Linked DNA regions of Homo sapiens: region 1 is linked to region 2. Evidence: promoter capture Hi-C in human tissues and cell types (Jung and others, 2019). All regions are on one chromosome and are shown on one strand. Each heading gives the region's core, a stretch centred on a gene start or on the middle of the fragment in contact. The rest is flanking DNA. Distances are from core to core; before and after follow the strand shown.

Region 1 (2,946 bases), core at 268-2,767, 39 kb before region 2:
CGGATCACAAGGTCAGGAGATCGAGACCATCCTGGCTAACACGGTGAAACCCTGTCTGTACTAAAAATACATAAAATTAGCCAGGTGAGGTGGCGGGTGCCTGTAGTCCCAGCTACTCAGGAGGCTGAGGCAGGACAATGACGTGAACCCAGGAGGCGGAGCTTGCAGTGAGCCGAGATCACGTCACTGCACTCCACCCTGGGCAACAGAGCAAGACTTCATCTAAAAAAAATAAATAAATAAATAAGAAAGAAAGAAAGAAAATAAATAAATATAGATATATATAAATCCATGTCCTATCTTCTAGTAAAATCAGTAGAAGTAGAAAAAATACCCCTCTCACTGAGCCCTCTCTGGCAAATACTACATATCTTTTTTATAATAACAAAATTCCACTTATATATTTTATGATGAGAATGCCTAATTCCAGTTTTCTTAAATAAGGGTCCATCTCCAATATTGGATCCAGAGCTGCTGGGAGGGAAAGACTTTGTTTTTGGCTTCAGTTTAGGATTATTTTGGTTTTGCCCACTTTTACTTTATTTTTATTTTATCCTGTGTTTCCTTTATTTCTCCTAAATTTACCTCATAAATGTCAAGGCATATCCCTTGATTCTAGTTAGTCGTGTTTAAGTAAACAAGCTTCCTTTCATCCTGTCTTTGTTGTGATTTTTAGAAGTGCTTGTTATTTATTCTCGCATTCATTCAACAAACTTTATTTGTGCTCCTCACTTGGCTTGGGACCTGTTAGCAGCTGGGACTACACAGAGTCTGCTCTTAAAGAGCTCGGGGTCTAGTGGCTCCATAAACTATATTATTAGTGCCTATGTCCAAAACTAAAATAAGCACTTAGTAAACATTTTTGGTTGAAGCAATGAAACTTCCTTGTTTTCTTCTCTTAGGATTTGTAAATTGAGAAGTTCCTGCTAGTTCTTGACTTACCCCTGGCTCAGGCTAATGTCGAAATACAAATACATTGGGCCTCAAGCTCTCAAAGATTAGTTACCACCTTAAACAAATGATTAACAGATTAAAACTTTATGCTTTACCCTGCAAATTTTTAATAAATACCAGAAATGGAAATGTCACTCAACAACTTTTAAAAATTAAACTTGAAGGTCTATATGCAAAGCAAGATCAATTAGCTTTCTATATGATCTTTACCTTGTTCCATTTTCCTGATTTAGTTGTAATTTACACAAAGATTATTTCTGGGAACTATGAAGTAAGTTCATTTATCCAATACCAGAACCACTAAAAGACAGAGTTCTCCCCTTTACTGCAAATATGACAAAAATAATGACAATGGGGAATATATATGGAGACTAAGGTTACCAACTATTCTTTCTTTGGAGGAACAATCCTTTGTTTTCAAATTATATTTTTCCAGTTTGGGAGGAGAGGAGCGCTAAAATGTTTAATCTTTATGGAAACAAAGGTCATAGTACAGAGTAGTGTGACTTTTTTAAAAACATCCTTACTGGGCAAAATAAAAAAGTTTGCAAGGTTATTTTTATTCCTTTTCCCACTTTGTTATTTATTTATATCTCTGAAGTTCAAAAGTCTGGAAACTGTTATCAGAGAGTGAGATCCATAGACATTTGGGACATCAATGACGTTGACTTACTCACTTATTTAAGACATCTCCGGGCTTGAACCCAGTCACCATAAGTAGTGTAATGACTGTTCTCAAACTTCCCAAAGCAAGATCAGATCTTATCCTGTACTATGATCTTGTCCAATAATTTGTTTATCTTATTAAATTGTTTTTCTTATGAAATCCTGTCTACCTAATGCTCTACTTTTCTGTGATTCAAAACTAAGATGTTGAAGAACCAATGATCTTAAAAACAGGACAGGACTTGTTTCCTGAATGTAATGTGGAGGAAAGGGCACAGGCTGTAGAATCAGAGGGCTGTTCAGACGCTGCTTCTGCCAGCTACTCACTGTGTAATCTTAGGCAGTTTATTTCTCTGATCTTCAGTGTTTTCATCTGAATAATGAGAATAAAACTACATTTCTGAGTGTAAGGACTAAATGTAATAATATATGGCTATTCTTAGGATCTGGCACACAATGGTTGCTCAATAAAAGTAGCCATTATAGCCGGGTGCGGTGGCTCATGCCTGTAATCCCAGTACTTTGGGAGACCGAGGCAGGTGGATCACCTGAGGTCAGGAGTTCGAGACCAGCCTGACCAACATGGTGAAACCCCGTCTCTACTAAAAATACAAAAATTAGCTGGGCATAGTGGAATGCACCTGTAGTCCCAGCTACTCGGGAGGCTGAGGCAGGAGAATAGTGTGAACCTGGGAGATGGAGCTTGCAGTGAGCTGAGATCGCGTCACTGCACTCCAGCCTGGGCGACAGAGCGAGACTCCATGTCAAAAAGAAAAAAAAAAAGTAGCCATTATCACCTATTTACTTTTTTTTTTTTTTTTGAGACAGAGTCTTGCTCTTGTTGCCCAGGCTGGAGTGCAATGATGTAATCTCGGCTGACTGCAACCTTTGCCTCCCGGGCTCAGGTGATTCTCCTGCCTCAGCCTTCCCAGCAGTTGGAATTACGGGTGCATTCCACCATGCCCAGCTAATTTTTGTATTTTTAGTGGAGATGGGGTTTCACCATGTTGGTCAGGATGGTCTCTAACTCCTGATGTCAGGTGATCCACCTGCCTCAGTCTCCCAAAGTGCTGGGATTACAGGCGTGAGCCACTGCACCCGGCTATTACCTATTTTCTAACATTACCTCTATGTAGTTGGAACATTTTTGATGATTTTTTAAATAATATAAATACACAAAGACATTTTGGGTTTTTTTGTTTTTGTTTTTTGGGCTTTTTTTTTTTTTTTTTTTAGACGGAGTCTTGCTCTGTTACCGTGCAGTGGCATGATCTTGGCTCACTGCAACCTCAGCCTCCTGAGTTCAAGTGATCCTCCTGCCTCAGC
Region 2 (3,201 bases), core at 634-3,133:
ACCTATACTAAGTCCAGTGGTATCATCCATAAGGCTGAATAATGTAAACTAATTCATGCCTATGTTTTACTCAATGCTCCACCACTCATTTGATCAGAAACATAACATGATCCTAGATTTAGTGTCCATTTAACATAATCACTTTAAGTCCAAATGGCAGAAAGAGACAAAATACCCTTTTTCTTTTGGGCAAGCAATGCAATGTACTCAACAGACATCCCTGACCTTCATCCCATCCTGAATCTCTCCCAATTGCAAACATGTATTGAGGAGATAAATGAGTCAGGAATGGGACAAAGGACAAAGTGAAGCTGAGGGATTAGGTCAGTGAGTCTCAGGATCAGTGAATGGCTATTTCAGATAGCGTTGGGTAATGTTTCATAAAAGCTGAAAACGTTTCATGACTTATTTTCTTAGGCTGTATCAAAATATTCTTGGTATCAAAATGACTAGTTCAAAACATGTACCCATTTGATCTTCATAATAACAGTGTGAGGTAAACAGAGCCTGTCATTTCCATCATAAAGAAAAGGAAACTAAGGAAATATACCCTTCATTCAGCTGGGATTTTAAAATATGACTTAATTTTTTAATGCAGTATACTGGGATAATAATGCTATGTTATTACTGCCAATAAAGAGTTTTTTGTTTTGAAGGAGCTGTTAGATTTAGAATACTCTTTAGATCCTCAAAGGAAGTATTTGAGTGACTTCCAAACTCAAAAACCTCCGGAGCAAGGGAGATTTGTTTGTCAGCTTGGTTGTTTGTTTGTTTTTAGGTACTTGAATAACTTCCTCCTTGAAAAGGAGGGTGCAGAAATCAAAGGCCTGATTGTGCTGAATCCTTCTCTTTGGTCATTATTCAGACTGGTTCCCAGCATGCCGCAGTCCAGAGGAAAAGGTCCAAGTTCTGTTTAAAAATCAGAGACTAAAGAGCTTACTCAGCATCCTGCTCACATTAATGTTGCTTGTTTTCATCATTTAAAGTCTTTTGATAGTTCCTTGTATACAATAACCTTAGGCTTCTGGGAATATTCTCAGAACATAGGAAGCACCTCCCTGACTTAGTAAAGATGAAAAATGCTTTTCATGACTATCCCCTCTCTTGAAGGACCCCCTGGAACAGCCAGGTCTTTGGGCATAATTAAATTCTGGGCAAGATTTTACAGAAATGCAGCTTCTTTTTTCTAATTTAGTTGTGTGGTGTGTGTGTGTAAAGTGGGGGAGGTTCCACTTGGTGGGGAAAGGAGAATTTGCCATTGCTGCTCGTCTACTCAGGACTGTTTCTGTTGTTGTTGTGTTTCAGCATCAGAGAGTGAGAGTGTATTGCAGCAATCTGACTATTTGGAAGACTGTTCCTTGAATTTCCCAATTCAAAAGCCTCGGTAGAGCTGAGGGATGCTTGATACGTCAACACAGACCACAAAAGGCAGGGCTTTTCTAAAGAGATTATAATTATATCTACCTTTTGGGTACAGGAGGTGAATGGAAGGAAGGGATTCTGGAGCAGATATCCCAAAAGAAGAATCCCGAAGCAGAACTCCTCGCACAAGGTTATCTAAATCTCCTTGACAGGTGCACAGGCAGAGAAGGCATTTGGCCCTTGAAGTAACATTTACTTGAGAGGTTGGGACAATTCTGTCACGCTTAGGACAAGCCAGCTGACCCTGAGCCCAGGAGCACCCTAGGACTGCAGCACAGAAAATACACCAGCTGGCCGGTCGCCCCTCCTTTGTTCCATTCCCGGGGGATTGGAGTAGCGTTGGAGTCACCGACGCCATCCCCTCCCGCCTCTGGCGTGCATGGAGCATGCGCTTCCTTCCTCACTTCCTCTGCAGGAGGGAGCGAGAGTAAAGCTACGCCCTGGCGCGCAGTCTCCGCGTCACAGGAACTTCAGCACCCACAGGGCGGACAGCGCTCCCCTCTACCTGGAGACTTGACTCCCGCGCGCCCCAACCCTGCTTATCCCTTGACCGTCGAGTGTCAGAGATCCTGCAGCCGCCCAGTCCCGGCCCCTCTCCCGCCCCACACCCACCCTCCTGGCTCTTCCTGTTTTTACTCCTCCTTTTCATTCATAACAAAAGCTACAGCTCCAGGAGCCCAGCGCCGGGCTGTGACCCAAGCCGAGCGTGGAAGAATGGGGTTCCTCGGGACCGGCACTTGGATTCTGGTGTTAGTGCTCCCGATTCAAGCTTTCCCCAAACCTGGAGGAAGCCAAGGTATGTGAACACTTTTCTTCTTCCTACCTTCCTTTTATTTCGCCACGAAAAGGTAAAGTTTGGCATAATACGTGAGCTGTAAATCACCCTGACGCGTTTTCTGATCAAATCATATCCATGAATACGGACAGAGAAATCAGTTCGAATTTAGAGACAGAAGACAGATTTTTTTTCTTCACTTTTAAAATGATAGAGCAATAATATGGGTTGTTTTTAAAGATCTTATTTTGAAAAGGGAAGGGAACCTTTTTCACCTAAAGTGGCTTGGATTGTTTTCTAGTTGCCTTACAACCTTTCTCAGACAGTCTATTCATTATATATGCAGTATATGATGAAAGAGCTTTTAGTGTGCCAATAATACCAATCCAAATTATGCTCTCTCTAGCTGAGAATAGCTGATAACCCTAGTGTTAGAACTATATGTTAAATTTCTGGTCAGAAAAAAAAAAAAGTGTGATTCTGTCAGCTCAAGAAATACACCAAGATAATAAACAAGGCAATATTGATAATTACTATTATTGTATAATCTTGATAATCTTTGTTAATATGCATTTGTTTCATAGTCATCCAAAATTATTTCTCCTAATATTTTTCCTTTTTATAAAAATTTTATTTAATAAGAGGCATATTTTGTCCTTCAACGCACAATTAAATTTATATTCACATGTGTTTATTCTAGACAAATCTCTACATAATAGAGAATTAAGTGCAGAAAGACCTTTGAATGAACAGGTAGGTCAAAAGTAACATTATGAATGCTATTTCATTTTGATTTAGTTATTATTATTTAATGTAATTATGCTGTGACATTTTGGTCATTTTGAATTTACAAACATCAGGAACTTAATAGTTAATTGACAGAAATTAGGACGGGAAATCTAGTTTTGGTAAATTCTATGCCCTAGCAGTTATTTACATTGAGTTCTGTATAATGAATACATAGAGTAACTATATAATAACCCAGTAAGCTCAGCATCACATCC

Evidence for each region. Contacts are between HindIII fragments. The study calls those that stand out against the background at their distance.
Region 1: a fragment that was not itself captured here is called in contact with the fragment with the promoter of SCG3 in region 2 in 1 of the 25 tissues and cell types used here (mesendoderm cells).

Annotation. Positions count from the first base shown.
Region 1 is chr15:51,641,013-51,643,958 of GRCh38, forward strand. The region is part of intron 2 of LOC105370816 (a long non-coding RNA gene); the gene reads right to left. Among named protein-coding and RNA genes, the nearest start is that of DMXL2, 20 kb to the left of the region's middle. The HindIII fragment of the contact is 6,959 bases long and covers 1-2,946 here.
Region 2 is chr15:51,679,620-51,682,820 of GRCh38, forward strand. It overlaps SCG3 (secretogranin III), which reads left to right and starts at 1,884. Exons shown (of 12, transcript NM_013243.4): 1 at 1,884-2,218; 2 at 2,898-2,950. The coding sequence starts at 2,137. The HindIII fragment of the contact is 9,018 bases long and covers 1-3,201 here.